4 separate regions of the Homo sapiens genome follow, and regions 1, 3 and 4 are each linked to region 2. The links are contacts of gene promoters, found by promoter capture Hi-C in blood cells and fetal thymus (Javierre and others, 2016). All regions are on one chromosome and are shown on one strand. Each heading gives the region's core, a stretch centred on a gene start or on the middle of the fragment in contact. The rest is flanking DNA. Distances are from core to core; before and after follow the strand shown.

Evidence for each region. Contacts are between HindIII fragments. The CHiCAGO score rates a contact against its expected background, and 5 or more counts as called.
Region 1: a contact is called between a fragment that was not itself captured here and the fragment with the promoter of RAB5C in region 2, in 3 of 17 cell types (erythroblasts, fetal thymus and monocytes). The highest score is 5.8, in erythroblasts.
Region 3: a fragment that was not itself captured here is called in contact with the fragment with the promoter of RAB5C in region 2 in 5 of 17 cell types (fetal thymus, monocytes, erythroblasts and 2 more); the score reaches 8.1 in fetal thymus.
Region 4: a fragment that was not itself captured here is called in contact with the fragment with the promoter of RAB5C in region 2 in 1 of 17 cell types (monocytes); the score reaches 6.0 in monocytes.

Annotation. Positions count from the first base shown.
Region 1 is chr17:42,000,704-42,004,380 of GRCh38, forward strand. The region is part of intron 1 of DNAJC7 (DnaJ heat shock protein family (Hsp40) member C7); the gene reads right to left. Among named protein-coding and RNA genes, the nearest start is that of DNAJC7, 15 kb to the right of the region's middle. The HindIII fragment of the contact is 630 bases long and covers 2,004-2,633 here.
Region 2 is chr17:42,153,115-42,156,376 of GRCh38, forward strand. It overlaps RAB5C (RAB5C, member RAS oncogene family), which reads right to left and starts at 1,875. Exons shown (of 6, transcript NM_004583.4): 1 at 1,779-1,875. RAB5C-AS1 (RAB5C antisense RNA 1) reads left to right here and starts at 1,286. Exons shown (of 3, transcript NR_187282.1): 1 at 1,286-1,595; 2 at 1,885-1,994; 3 at 2,654-3,262. RefSeq lists enhancers at 1,327-1,947, 1,857-2,151, 2,034-2,143. The HindIII fragment of the contact is 7,588 bases long and covers 612-3,262 here.
Region 3 is chr17:42,023,737-42,027,373 of GRCh38, forward strand. It overlaps NKIRAS2 (NFKB inhibitor interacting Ras like 2), which reads left to right. Exons shown (of 4, transcript NM_017595.6): 4 at 1-1,905. The coding sequence ends at 157. It overlaps ZNF385C (zinc finger protein 385C), which reads right to left. Exons shown (of 9, transcript NM_001392013.1): 9 at 1,840-3,397. The coding sequence ends at 3,161. Among named protein-coding and RNA genes, the nearest start is that of NKIRAS2, 5.5 kb to the left of the region's middle. RefSeq lists an enhancer at 1,201-1,250. The HindIII fragment of the contact is 911 bases long and covers 1,675-2,585 here.
Region 4 is chr17:41,978,022-41,981,524 of GRCh38, forward strand. The region is part of intron 12 of DNAJC7 (DnaJ heat shock protein family (Hsp40) member C7); the gene reads right to left. Among named protein-coding and RNA genes, the nearest start is that of CNP, 13 kb to the left of the region's middle. The HindIII fragment of the contact is 4,055 bases long and covers 210-3,503 here.

The DNA.
Region 1 (3,677 bases), core at 1,069-3,568, 150 kb before region 2:
AGATTTGTTGAATAGGCCAATGGACCAAAAGGAGGTGCTAATGAAAGAATCCAAGTTCTTCAGATGCTCCTTTTTGTCACTTAGATACATTCAAACTAAATCAAGAAAACCCCTCTTATGTTCCTGCCTCACCTCACTATTTCTGCCTGTAGTCATCCTCCCCGCAGGACAAATTTAGACATTCCCTCATGGCAAGGAATTTTTCTATCTCCTTCCACAGTGTCACAACTGCTGCCTCTTTTGCAAACTTACAGGAAAAATGGTTACTCCATTCAGGGCAACTTATTTCTCAATGTGAAATAGGTCACATCCTCAAGAGTTTTAATAATTTCACCTCCTGAAAAGTGGCTCATGCATTTGTCACTGGAAGAACAAGCAGAGCAAAGGCAGGTGGCAAAAGAGTTAAAAGCATAGCATGTTGGTGTTTAAGACAGGAACAGAGCTGAGTGACAGCAGAGACTAAGACCGTGGATGACAGGGACATATGAGGTACAGGATGCCAGTGCCATACTATAAGGAGCACCCATCCACTGGTGTTCCCTCTTCCCATCACAACAATGTAGGTACTTGCTGCCCTCTTTGTACTCCCTCCAGTACCTTATATATTCAGCAACTGGGTGATAGCAGTATTTTTTCCCTACCTCTAAGATCTATTTTTTGAAACTGTGCCATTAGACAAAGTATACTTTCCTAAACTTTGTCCTAAAGGAACAATGTTATATAATTGGGAATTAGATTCCCGAGCAAGTACCTAGAATCAAATCAGACATGACCAACAGTGTTTTAAAAGAACTAGTAACCTCTATCAAGATACTCAAAATCATTCCACTGCTCAAGTGATAAAGATAATTCTTTACTGAAATGATTACTGCAACATTAACTAAGTACCTGATCATTTTTGTTATGAGAAACATCTTTCTTTTCCTGTTGTTCACATGCAAAAAAGAACCTAGTTCGGGGTTGCCTGAAGTTGAGGCAAAAGTCCTAGTTCTTAAACCTTGGTGATGGTACAGCAATTTACAGCTTGAGTCTACGGATATCTGCATTAGGGAGATTTGTGATTTACTTAAGTATTTTAAACTACAAACTGGTAAAGTCGCCCTCCTTTTATTGAGGTGATCCTCCCTCTCCATTCTTCTCCATCACTGTCCTGGCAAGCCCTACTAATATGAAAAGGCTGCTAGAAGGAGAAGGCAAATGGGAATGACCTATAAATGCTGACAGCTGTGAAATGTGATGGATATAAATCTGCTTGAGTAACTGTCTATACCAACTATCACAATGCTGAAAAGAGGCCTTCTGCTATGAAAAATCTTCAAGAAAGATCCCCCAATTGCAAGATTTAAAGAACCAACTGAAATCTTGCTACATGGTATTCACCATCCTGTAACTCTAAATTAAGCAAAGTGCTTATAAAAACTCTCAGGAGCCTATCCTTTAAGAGCAGACATGCCAAGGGATTTGAACAAAGGACTTCCCCAAAACTGGATTTCGATTAGTCAAACTGCTGTGAAGAAATGGAGTAGCAAATTCCAAAGTAAGACATTAGGCCCAAACTCCATCAGAGAAGATCTAGCCTCTTCTTCAGTTGGCTAGTGGCTAAGAATATACAAATCTTTGAGGAAAACGAAGACATCTAGGTACCTGGGGAGACACTGTGTCAGCAGTATAAAGCTTGTTAGTCGAAAGTGAAATAATGTACAGGGCTGCTGAAAGGTGCCCCTAGTCTCCTCCTTCCTAAGACACTACCCCTATGGAGGTCGGGGAGTTCAGGACTGGCTTCTAGAAAAAATGCAAAGGATGATTTTGGTGGACAGTTACTAATAACTACTGAGGCCAGGTACTTTCCATACAGTATCCTCTATAAAACACAGTCCGGTGAACTTCATTATTCCCATTTTTCAAAAGAGGAAATAAGGCCTGGGGGTTAAATAACTTGCCTGAGGTCAGGATGTTACCCATGTTTGTCAGAATACAAAGCTTGTGCACTTTCTACTATGCCAAGCTTTCTCTCTAATGCTTGCCTCCGCTTACTGCTAACTATTTTGAAAATTAGTCTGTACTACGAGGAGTAAGACATGGACAATATATGTAAGACATGGACAATACATATAAATTTGTTTAAACTAAGACACACAGTACACCCCACATGTAATATTCAACCCCAGAACCAAAATCGGTATTTAAATAAGCTAAATGACATTCCTAACAATTAGTCATAGAGGAAGCAGGGCTCCTTTCTCTTTAAGATGCAAGACCTAGTGAACTGGACTTTGCCTCCCCAAAGAAATGCATTTCATTTTAGTAAATGGTGAGTAGATTCCATTCTAGAGCAAACAAAGCAAGTAATGTAGAGTCAGCCCACAGCAAAAAGAACAAGAAGAATTGTGTTGTGACAAGTTGCCATGTTTTTAACCTCACACTGCACAGCATCAGGCCAGAATTAGCTATTCCCACACAACTGCCTCATGAAAAGGACTTATTTTCATAGAAACGTGGCTGATTAACAGCTGCCTAAACAATGGGCACTTAGTGCTTTTAGACTGAACGCTTATTTTTTGCCTTCAGGTCCAATGCCCAAAGTGGACTGGAGTCCCTCCTTCATTTTGAACCTCCCCACCAAATACACAACAAGCTTTAACCAGTGGGCCTGACCCTGCGAGACCAGTCGAGGAAAGAGTGGATCTTTGGAATCCAGCATGGCAGCAGCAAGAACTGAACAAGGCTGCATCAGGAACAATTCCAGTGTCAAATCCATTCAAGTCCTGCCCTGGAAGTCTGAGAAAGGGCTGAAGCTTGTTCAAGTTGCCTTTACAGCAAAGGGACTGAAGGATGAGATGTCAAAGGCGTGGGACTGGAAAAAAAGGAGAAGAGCTGGTTAACACTGGAATTGAAGGCAATCTGGTGGTGGCATCTGTCACTCACTCACTGCCAGGGTCAATTCATCTGATAGCCAAGTGAGGTTGTAACATGCACCTACTGAAACACACCAGTACTGAGAAAAGAAGACTTAGGATTAATTGGCTTCACCTAGACCAATTAAAAAAAAAAAGGATTCCCAATGCACTAAATTAAACTACAGATTATTTTCTGTGGCTACAAAATTAAATTCAGATTAAACTCTTAAATATAATACCACAGCAAAATATAGACTTGGCCATAACTGACCTGATGGTACTATTAACAACTACAATATATTTCTAGTGTTATTTCAGATTTTCGAAGCATTTCCAATGAAGATTTTCAATTTTTTTTTTTTTTTTTTTTTTTTAGATGGAGTCTAACTCTTTTGCCCAGGCTGGAGGGCAGTGGCATGAACTCGGTTCACTGCAGCCTCTGCCTCCTGGGTTCAAGTGTTCTCTCGCCTTAGCCTCCCGAGTAGCTGGGATTACAGGCATGTGCCACCATGCCCAGCTATTTTTTGTATTTTTAGTAGAGACGGGGTTTCATCATGTTGGCCAGACTGGTCTCAAACTCCTGACTGCAAATGATCCGCCTGCCTAGACCTCTCAAAGTGCTAGTAGGATTAAAGGCGTCAGCCACCACGCCTGGCCAAGATTTTCAAATGGCCTTCTGAGGTGGTTATGGCAATAATTTCACCTATCCTCCAACAGAGGAAGAGCTAGTGAGGCAACCAAGATGGCTGCACAGGTCTCCTAAGTCCTAGAAGTTTATGT
Region 2 (3,262 bases), core at 625-3,124:
ATAAAAAGTGAAATAAGTAGGCCGGGCACGGTGGTTCACACCTGTAATCTCAGCACTTTGGGAGGCTGAGGCGGGTGGATCACCTGAAGTCAGGAGTTCGAGACCAGCCCGGCCAACATGGCGAAACCCCATCTCTACTAAAAATACAAAAATTAGCCGGGTGTGGTGGCAGGCGCCTGTTAATCCCAGCTACTCAGGAGGCTGAGGCAAGAGAACTGCTTGAACCCAGGAGGCAGAGGTTGCAGTGAGCCAAGATCACGCCACTGCACTCCAGCCTGGGCGACAGAGCAAGACTCCATCTCAAAAACAAACAAACAAAAAAGTGAAGAAAGTACATCCTAGCTCTACTCAAAAGACTGTAGGAATCAGATACTAGCCACTGTCCAGAAGCCCTCAAACACACCTCAAGGCCAAAAAACACAGCACTTTTAAGTGGCAAGCGAGGGTGGTAAAGGTAGCCCAGAACACTGAAGAGCTACAGAAGTTCCCACAAACTGCACGGCTTTCCGTCCCTTCCTCCACTGTAGATAGCAAGGGTCAGTCATGGCCTCAGAGCCAGGCTACTCCTCGTTAAGGTACAGTCTCCGGCCTGTACTTTGGCCACATAACAAAGCTTGGTCTGAGACAGCAGCTATTTCACACACCTAAGCCCCAAGCAACAGACAAGGATCAGTCAATATGGTTGAGGGAACCTGCACTTTCTGGCATGTATCGGAATTCCTCAGGCTACAATTAAAAATCCAGAACTGCCATTGTGATCTTGACTTAGTCCTCAGTAATAAGTCCAAGCCCTGAAGGGATTGCAGACAGACCCTGGCGTGGTGTGGACCTGTTGCTCAGGGAGGTGTATGTGTGTGTGTTTGGGAGTGGGAAAGAGATGGCCCTTCAATTCCAGACTCCTCATTTTGGGTCTTATTCTCCTCCCTATAGACACACGGACAGCAGTCCCAAGAAAAGCAGTCCCTTTGAGGCGGCTGGGAAACCACTCACGTGCTCTGGGAGGACAGAGCTGAGCCTGGAGCAAGGGGGGAGGGGAAAGAAGATAATGAATGGGCACATCCACCCTGATCTGTGATCTGTAGCTAGGATTGAGCAAACCTCAGCTAAATTCTTCAGAGGCAGAAAGAGAGAGACACTCAAAGAACAACATAACTAGAGGACAGGGCTGGGAGACAGAAGGGGCAAAACAGGAAAACAGCTCATTTCTAGTAAGTGACTTTAAACTCAGCTGAGGTCCTGGTTGGTTCTCTGGCTTGAGGAAAGAGAGGAAGTAAGGAGTTGCGGGAGCGCACACACACTTCTGTGCGTGTGGAACGGTCTCACCCAGACGACCCCCCTCCCCCAAAGGAAATCGAGATATTCCTCTAGGGCTAGAGGGGACAACTGGTTTTGTGGGACAGGAGGAAGGAAAACGGCGACAGACAGCACTCCCTGTCACTTCTAAAAGAGAAGAGGGACAGGTTCCTTCACACCTAGCAAAGATCCTCCGATTCTGGAAGCAGGGGGAGCGGAACTTAGGGTACCTCTCTCCCACAACTAGAATGGACAGGCCAGAGGACAGTCATAGCGGTTTCCTTAAGGCTCACCAAAGGCAGGTAAGCTAAGGAAAGAAGCTCCCCACCTCCTATGGCCCGACGCCTGGGGAGCCCCTCAAGAGGGGGCTACGGGTCGGGGGAGGGGTCAGTATCCCCCTAAACTGGGGCTGGGCGGGAGGAAGGGCTGCCCTGGAGATGCTTCAACGCAGGCGAGACACCAGGTCCTGGGACAAGCATACTCACGGCGGCTCCGGGGCGGCGGCGTTACTTGGGGCCGGGGCTCGGACGGGATCCGCTTCTCTCCCCGCCGGCGGTGTCCCAGGCTCCGGCCTCCACTTCCGCCTTTCAGCCGCTCCGGATCCGGATCTCCACCTCCGCCCCGCCCCTCAATACTCCCAGGTGATTGACAGTGCGGAGACCAATGGGAGGCACTCTTGGCCGACCTACCCAGCGGCGCCGGTAGGAACGCGGGAGTGGCGGTAGGGAGCGCGCGAGGGATCGCGGGACTTGTAGTTCGCAGCGCTGGGAGGAGTCAGTGGCTGCCTGGGACTTGGGCTTAGGGTGGAGCCGGCTGACTGCGAGGCGGAGCCCGGCCGGAACTTTTTTTTTTTTTTTGAGACGGAGTCTTACTCTGTCGCCCAGGCTGGAGTGCAGTGGTGCGATCTCACTGCAACCTCTGCCTCCCGGGTTCAAGCGATTCTCCTGCCTCAGCCTCCCGAGGAGCTGGATTATAGGCACGCACCACCACGCCCGACTAATTTTTGTATTTTTTAGTAGAGACGGGGGTTTCGCCATGTTGGCCAGGCTGGTCTCGAACTCCTGACCTCAGGTGATCCGCCCTCTTCGGCCTCTCAAAGTGCTGAGATTACAGGCCTGAGCCACCGCGCCCAGCCTACGGCCGGGAACTTTTTAAGGCTAACCCTGCCATCCGCGTCACCGCCGGTTCCGGACGCCCCGAGGGAAGGCGGGTGGTGGAGCGTTGGAAGAAGGCAGAGGATTGTGTGTGCAGAATTGGGAAAGAAAAAACGTGGTGCGAATGAATATGCACGCGAGGCCTCAGTCCTGTGAACTCGCTGATCTGGAGAAGCCCTTGTCTGCACTGTCCGCCCGATTGCCAGGGGCGTCTGTGATTGGGAAGGTGAGGAAAGCGCTGCAGGAAGAGTTCTCTGCAGGATGCTGGGTGAGATCAAAGGGAGAGCTTCTGCCACCACCTCCTACTTGGTGTGTGCGGGGGCCGGCACAAAGACCATCTCTGCCTCTGCCTTCCCCTGCTCCTAGCCAGGGTCAGCTCTTCTCTCTGACGCGGAATACAGAGCTGGACAACCTCTGCCTCGGCCCTCTCCATCCGTAAATAAAGACTAGAACCACCCCCACTCTGCACTCTCCCCCTCTATGGATCAGGAATATTTGTTTTTTCTGCTCCTCTCAATATGGACTGGGCCCGCTCCTGATTCCTCCCACCCTTACCTCTCAACACAAACCAGTACCTCCTCTTCTTTTGCATCTCATCCTCAAGGGACACTACTGAAAACCTGTGTGGAATCAAAGCTCACCGGAGACAGCTGTGGCCATTGTGCCTATAACGCCAACACCAGGCATATCCTGGAGCCTCAGCTGGAGAATTTACCTGTCTTGGACAACCTGCCACAAAACTGTGCCCACATCTAGTTCCATCTGGTCATCAGGGCGTCTCTCTTTCTTACACCCATAACACACAATCCCCACTT
Region 3 (3,637 bases), core at 880-3,379, 130 kb before region 2:
GTCAGAGAAGGTGAAGCTGTGGGAGGTGTCAGTGGCGGACCGGCGCTCCCTCCTGGAGCCCTTTGTCTACTTGGCCAGCAAGATGACGCAACCCCAGAGCAAGTCTGCCTTCCCCCTCAGCCGGAAGAACAAGGGCAGCGGCTCCTTGGATGGCTGAAGAGCTGCCGTTCCTCTTTCACGATCCCAGCCCCATTTCAGTGTCTGGGGCTCTGGTAGATGTGTTGAGGGCAAAGTAGAGGACAAGCTGTCTTTCCCAGTCAGCCAGGGAGCTCCCCGCCAGGCCACGCCCCAGCCACTTTGCTCCCTCTCACCTCTGGGAAGTGCAAATACTCTTGGTTGACATCCCCTTCCTCAGCCCTCCCAGCCTACTCCCCATCCCAGCTTTTAGAGGATCTGCTCCACTGTCTCCTGGGGCAGTTGTGGGTCACTGTCCCTTCCAGCTGCCCCAGACAGGAAGCAGAGTCACCACGCAGCAGTGTCCCTTCTTGGGTCTGAGTTCCTATTATAGGTAGGGGCCCCACCCTCTGGGCTTCCCATCAGCGACACACACACACTTATGGCACCAGCCTGGACTCCAGAAAAAGGGTGTCCAGGTATTGTGTGTATGCATTTAGTTGTGCACACACAAATATGCTCCTATACTGGCATTAGGCGTCTCCTCATCCCTCACCCTGACCTTTCTCCTGTCCTTTTCTTGGCTGGAAGAAGTTGGCCTCCTGGGAGTGTAGTTTTCTGTTTTAAATCCCCCACCCCTGGCTGGGCTCAGTGGCTCACCCCTGTAATCCCAGCACTTTGGGAGGCCAAGGCGGGTCGATTACTTGAGGTCAGGAGTTCACGACCAGCCTGGCCAACATTGTGAAACCCCATCTCTGCCAAAAATACAAAAGTTAGCCGGGCGTAGTGGCACATGCCTGTAATCCCAGCTACCCGGGGAGGCTGAGGCAGGAGAATTGCTTGAACTCAGAAGGCGGAGGCTGCAGTGAGCCGAGATCGTGCCACTGCACTCCAGCCTGGTCAACAGAGCAAGACTCCATCTCGAAGAAAAAAAAAAAAAATTCCCCACCCCTACCAATTGTTTTACTTCCTCTTCCTGCTCAGGGAGCAGATGGGCCTCACTGGTTGAGATGGAATAGAATAACTGGGCTATGAGTCACCAGCCCACTTTGTGACCCAGCAAGACCTTTCCCCTCTCTGGGCATCAGTTTCTCATCTGTAAGATGACCAGAGTTGCTTAGATGATCTCCTAGATCCTTTCCAGTTCTCTTGATTTCGTAAAGCCAATGGCTTCTCCCTCTTTAAGGTGCTATGCCAACCAGCCCTGGAGGCTGGGATCTGCCGCTCCCTCCAGCCACCAGGGGGCAGGAGTGCACTACCTGCTGTCAGTCACCAGAGTGGCCGCTCAGTGCCCAGCCCGCCAGCCTCGCTCTTGGAGGCTGCTCTTTATCCTGCCTGTGGTTTTCAGCTCAGAGCTGGACTTCTATTTATAAGTTACCTGTATTTATATTTATATGCCCGCTCTCATGGTGAAGGCTGGACAAGGTGCTCCTCTGGCCCCTCCTTCTTACCTCAGATGCCTGAACAGAACAAGGCAAACCCGTAGCAGCCTCTCAGGAGCTGACAGGTCCTCTTTCGGGGCTCAGGAGGGTGGGCACACACCCAGCGGCCTGCAGAGTAAGCTTATTACCCACAACTGTGCCCGCTTTGTGCTTCTAAGGTGCACACCTAGCCTAGGTGAGACACTGCAGCCAGGCAACCACCGACACACGCCCCTTCTCAAAGCCAGAGGTGAGTGGGGCAGGTGCCCGGGGCTGGGTGAGTGGAATTAGGACACACACAGGCTTGGGCTTCAAGTTCATTTATTGATGCATTGGTTGGACACAATAAAACCACAATTGTTATCAAAAAGTTTCCCTCCCCTCCCCCTTTTTCTGGTTCTCCCATTGGAAATGTCTTTAAAAAACAAAAAAAAGATACAGGGGGATACTGGCAGGGTCCCATATTGTGGGGTGGGGAGGGGGCAGTGCTGCAGTGGAAAGGAGTTTGTGACATTGACATTGACAGCATGAAAATGGGTCTTGCCAGTGCATGTGAGACTGCCTCCCAACACTCAGCTTCACAGTGGCAGGGGCTGGTTGGGAGAAGGGAAAGCTGAATTTAGTGCTAGGACCAGTTTGGAGTGGGAAGCTGTAGGGGAAAGCTCTTCCTTTGGGAGCTCTGCGGGGGGTTCGGTGTTAGCTGAGTCCATAGTCTGAGGGAGACCCACACCCGCCCTCCAAGAGTTGGGGTTCAGGAAGTCAGAGAAAGGCTAAGAAGAAGAGCTTCTGAGGGATGAGTTACTCCCTCAATATTAAGACTGGGCTTATCAGCAAGTATCACTTGAACCAGGGAGGCAGAGGCTGCATGCAGTGAGCCAAGATTGCACCACTGCACTCTAACCTGGGCAACAGAATGATACTCTCAGACAGAAAAAAAGACTGGGCCCATGAATGCCCAGAAGACTTAAGATTAAAACAAAACCCTGGGCCCAACCAGAACATCACCTCCTCTCTTAGTCCCACCCCTTCAGAGCAGATGAAGCCCCCAAAAGCTTTCAGAACCAGCCCCACTACCTCCTTGGCTCTGCCCCACCTTAGCACTGCTGATCGAAGGACTTTTGGGTCCCCCTTTCTCCTCCATGGTCCTCTGTCACACTCCCATGGTCACCTTGTCCTGACAGCCTTGAGCCTGCTGCAGCTAGAGACCCCATCCCTATCTCCAGTGAAGCCCCAAAGCCTAGGAATAGAGGTCAGAGAGTCGTCCCCTGGCTAGGAGAGGATGGCTTGTAGAAGCTAAGATTCCTAGAGTCTGGCCATGTGGGTCTTGGGTGGAGGAAAGTGAGAGCACCACATGGCTGGGGCTGAGATTTTGCATAGATCTTTGGGGTCTGTCAGGGTGGGAAATGCAGGCAAGCCTAGGATTAACCCTGGAAGGCCTGCGAAAGGAGGGTGGGGACAGTCCTTGGAAGGCAGCTGCCCTTAAAACTAGCCCAGCTCTTTCTGGATCGGGCAGGACCCCTGAAGCTGTTCACAGTCCCTGTGGCATGTAGGAAACCAAGGTGTCTCAGGACAGGAGGAGACAAGGAGTGGCTATTGGGAAATCAGCTCTGGCCTCCCCATGAGGGCTAATAAGGGGCAAGGACGATAGGTCCTGTGGCAGGGCGGACAGCTCCTGCTGGGGTGCGAAACAGAGCTGGGCCCAGGATGGGAGCCGGGAAGAGGGTAGTGGCTGCTGTAGGGGCAGGGCGGAGGGCCAGGGGCCCTGGCAGAGCACAGATGGCAGTGGCTGCGGTGGGGAGCGGGCTGGGCAGGAAGCGGGCTGCCAACGTCTTGGTGAGTTGCTTCTGCAAGGCCAGTTTAGACTACACGGAAAAGAAAGGAATGGACACAGTCTCCACCCCAGAAAACCCCACCCCCTCCCTGGGGCCCATCCTCAAGCTTTTTGCTGCAGGGAAAGCGTGCCTTTTAGAGTTCCAAACCTAAATCCTCCTCCCTTCCCACCCCCAAACATTCATTCCGAAGGGCTTTCTCCACCACCTGTCTTCCTGTCCAGAGGGAGGAAAGTCTCAGCATGGGAGAAGGGAGGAGGATTTACGGGATAG
Region 4 (3,503 bases), core at 987-3,486, 170 kb before region 2:
TTACTTAATCCTAGTAATGTTTTGTCAGGGTAAGTATCATTCCCAATTAATACTCAACAAAACATATGTAGGTGGTTCAAGTAACTTGCCCACGATCACATGGCAGCGAAAGCAGCAGAACTGGAAAATCCAACTCCTGCCTGACTGGCTCTGTGCACTTTTGCAAGGCCACAGCATGTCTGGTGGCCCCATCCCTGACTGACTGCCCAAGCTTCACAGAAGGACTGACCCCCACCAGGTGATCCCACAGCCACCTCGTGCCCAGAGTGAGTTTCTCTGCTTGCATCTGTGTGTCTTCCTGGGCTCCTGGCTTAGTGAATGACCCCGAGTCAGCTATGCCTGTCACTTTCCCCAACACATCTGAATAGCAACCAACTCCTGCTGAGTCTACCACTAACTAACTCCCTGACTGTGCCCTCCAATCCTTTCCTACCTTTTGTGTCTTCCTTCCATCTCCATTCTCCTTACTCCCTCCAACCCCAACCTCCTCACCCCTATCACAAATATATTTCCAGAGCCAAAATCTGGTCCACAGTGCCCCTACTTAAAACTTCACGGCTGGCCGTGGTGGCTCAGGCCTGTAATCCCAGCACTTTGGGAGGCCAAGGTGGGTGGATCACGAGGTCAGGAGATCGAGATCATCCTGGCTAACAAAGTGAAACCCCGTCTCTACTAAAAAAAATAAAAATAAAAATAAAATAAAATAAAATTAGCCGGGCGTGGTGGCAGGTGCCTGTAGTCCCAGCTACTTGGGAGGCTAAGGCAGGAGAATGGCGTGAACCCGGGAGGCGGAGCTTGCAGTGAGCAGAGATCGCGCCACTGCACTCCAGCCTGGGCGACAGAGTGAGACTCCGTCTCAAAACAAAACAAAACCTCTTCACTAGTTTTTGACTGCTTATAGATCTTCTTAACTGCTAGGCAGAGGAACATGTTTATTGTGGTGAACCTAGGTTTATTAAACACAAATACCCCCACACTGAACTGGAGAGGACTCAGCATTATCTATATAGTACCATCATTCTTATTTTAAATTCCGGCTGGGTGCGGTGGCTCACGCCTGTCATCCCAACACTTTGGGAGGCCAAGATGGGCGGATCACACAAAGTCAGGAGTTTGAGACCAGCCTGGCCAACATGGTGAAACCCCGTCTCTACTAAAAATATAAAAATTAGCCGGGTGTGGCTGCAGGTGCCTGTAATCCCAGCTACTCAGGAGGCTGAGGCAGGAGAATTTCTTGAACCTGGGAGGTGGAGGTTGCCGTGAGCTGAGACTGCACCACTGCACACCAGCCTGGGTGACAGAGTAAGACCATGTCTCAAAAACATAACAACAAAAAAAAATTAAATAAATAAATAAGTTGCAATGGAAGGCCAGGCACAGTGGCTCACGCCTGTAATCCCAGCACTTTGGGAGGCCAAGGCCAGTAGATCACTTGCGGTCAGGAGTTCAAGACCAGCCCGGCCAACATGGTGAAACCCTGTCTCTACTAAAAATATAAAAATTAGCTAGGCATGGGGGTGGATGCCTGTAATCCCAGCTGCTCAGGAGGCTGAGGCAGGAGAATTGCTTGAACCCTGGAGGCAGAGGTTGCAGTGAGCCAAGATGGCACTACTGCACCCAGACTGGGCTCAGTCTTAAAAAAAAAAAAAAAAAAAAAAAGGCCGGGCGCGGTGGCTCACGCCTGTAATTCCAGCCCTTTGGGAGGCCGAGGTGGGTGGATCACGAAGTCAGGAGTTCCAGATCAGCCTGGCCAATATGGTAAAACCCCGTCTCTACTTAAAATACAAAAATTAGCTGGGCGTGGTGGCGCACACCTGTAGTCCCAGCTACTCGGGAGGCTGAGGCAGAAGAATCACTTGAACCCTGGAGGCGGAGGTTGCAGTGAGTCGAGATGGTGCCACTGCACTCCAGCCTGGGTGACACAGCAAGACTCCGTCTCAAAAAACAAAACAAAACAAAAAACAAAATCCCAATAGATTTTCTTAGTGGAAGAGATGGTAGGTCTGTTCACCATTCACAGGTCAGGTCCTCTTTTTTTTTTTTTTTTTGAGACAAGTCTTGCTCTGTCGCCAGGCTGGAGTGCAGTGGTGCGATCTCAGCTCATTGCAACCTCCGCCTCCCGAGTTCAAGCGATTCTCCTGCCTCAGCCTCCCAAGTAGCTGGGACTACAGGCGTGCGCCACCATGGCTAGCTAATTTTTGTATTTTTCATAGAGACGGGGTTTCACCATGTTGGGCAGGATGGTCTCAATCTCTTGACCTTGTGGTCCGCCCACCTTGTTCTCCCAAAGTGATGGGATTACAGGCGTGAGCCACCATGCCCAGCAAATTTTTTGGCAGACAACTTAGAGTGAAGACTGACTGAATTAATTAATTAATTTTTGAGATGGAGTCGCACTCTGTAACCCAAGCTGGAGTACAGTGGCGCAATCTCAGCTCACTGCAACCTCTGCCTCCTGGGCTCAAGAGTTTTTGGTGCCTCAGTCTCCTGAGTAGCTTGGACCACAGGCATGCACCACCATGCTCAGCTAATTTTTTTGTATTTTAGTAGAGAGTACAATTTTTTTGGTATTTTGTATGTTGCCCAGGGTGGTCTTGAACTCCTGAGCTCAGGTGATCTGCCCGCCTTGGCTTCCCAAAGTGCTGGGATTACAGGCGTAAGCCACCGCGCCCAGCTCACAGGTCAGGGCCTCTTATCTCTGACAGCCCACAGTGAGCAACAATATTGACAATAGGTGTGCTTTATATCATGCTAAATCTTTTTGGGAAATTAAAATCTGTGAGTGTTTATAGGAATGTATGACATACATAAATGTCAGCATACACTTTGCAGTGGGTAAAAAAGAACTTCCAGATAATAGGAAAATGCTCATATTCCTTACCACATACAGCCCTTATGGCCTGTGAGCTCTGATCCAGCTACTTGCCGGCCTTCCACCACCACCTGCCTCTAGCACCCTATCCCTTTATCTTCCCTAGACCAAGCCCCCTGCAGATCCCCAAAGAGGCCATGCTTTGCTTTTTTAGTGGGGAGGGATGGAGTCTCACTCTGTTGCCCAGGCTGGAGTGCAGTAGCGCCATCTTGGCTCACTGCAACCTCCACCTCCCGGGTTCAAGTAGCTGGGATTACAGGTGTGCACCACCACACCTGGCTAATTTTTCTTTTTTCTTTCTTCTTATTATTTTTTTTAATTGAGACAAAGTCTTGCTCTGTCGCCCAGGATGGAGTACAGTGGGACAATCTCGGCTCACTGCAACCTCCGCCTCCTGGGTGCAAGCGATTCTCATGCCTCGGCCTCCCGAGTAGCTGGGATTACAGGCGCCCACCACCACACCTGGCTAATTTCTGTATTTTAGTAGAGACGAGGTTTCACCATGTTGGCCAGGCTGGTCTCAAACTCCTGACCTGGTGATCAACCTGCTTTGACCTCACAAAGTGGTGAGATTACAGGCATGAGCCACCGCGCCCAGCCTAATTTTTGTATTTTTAGTAGAGACAGGGTT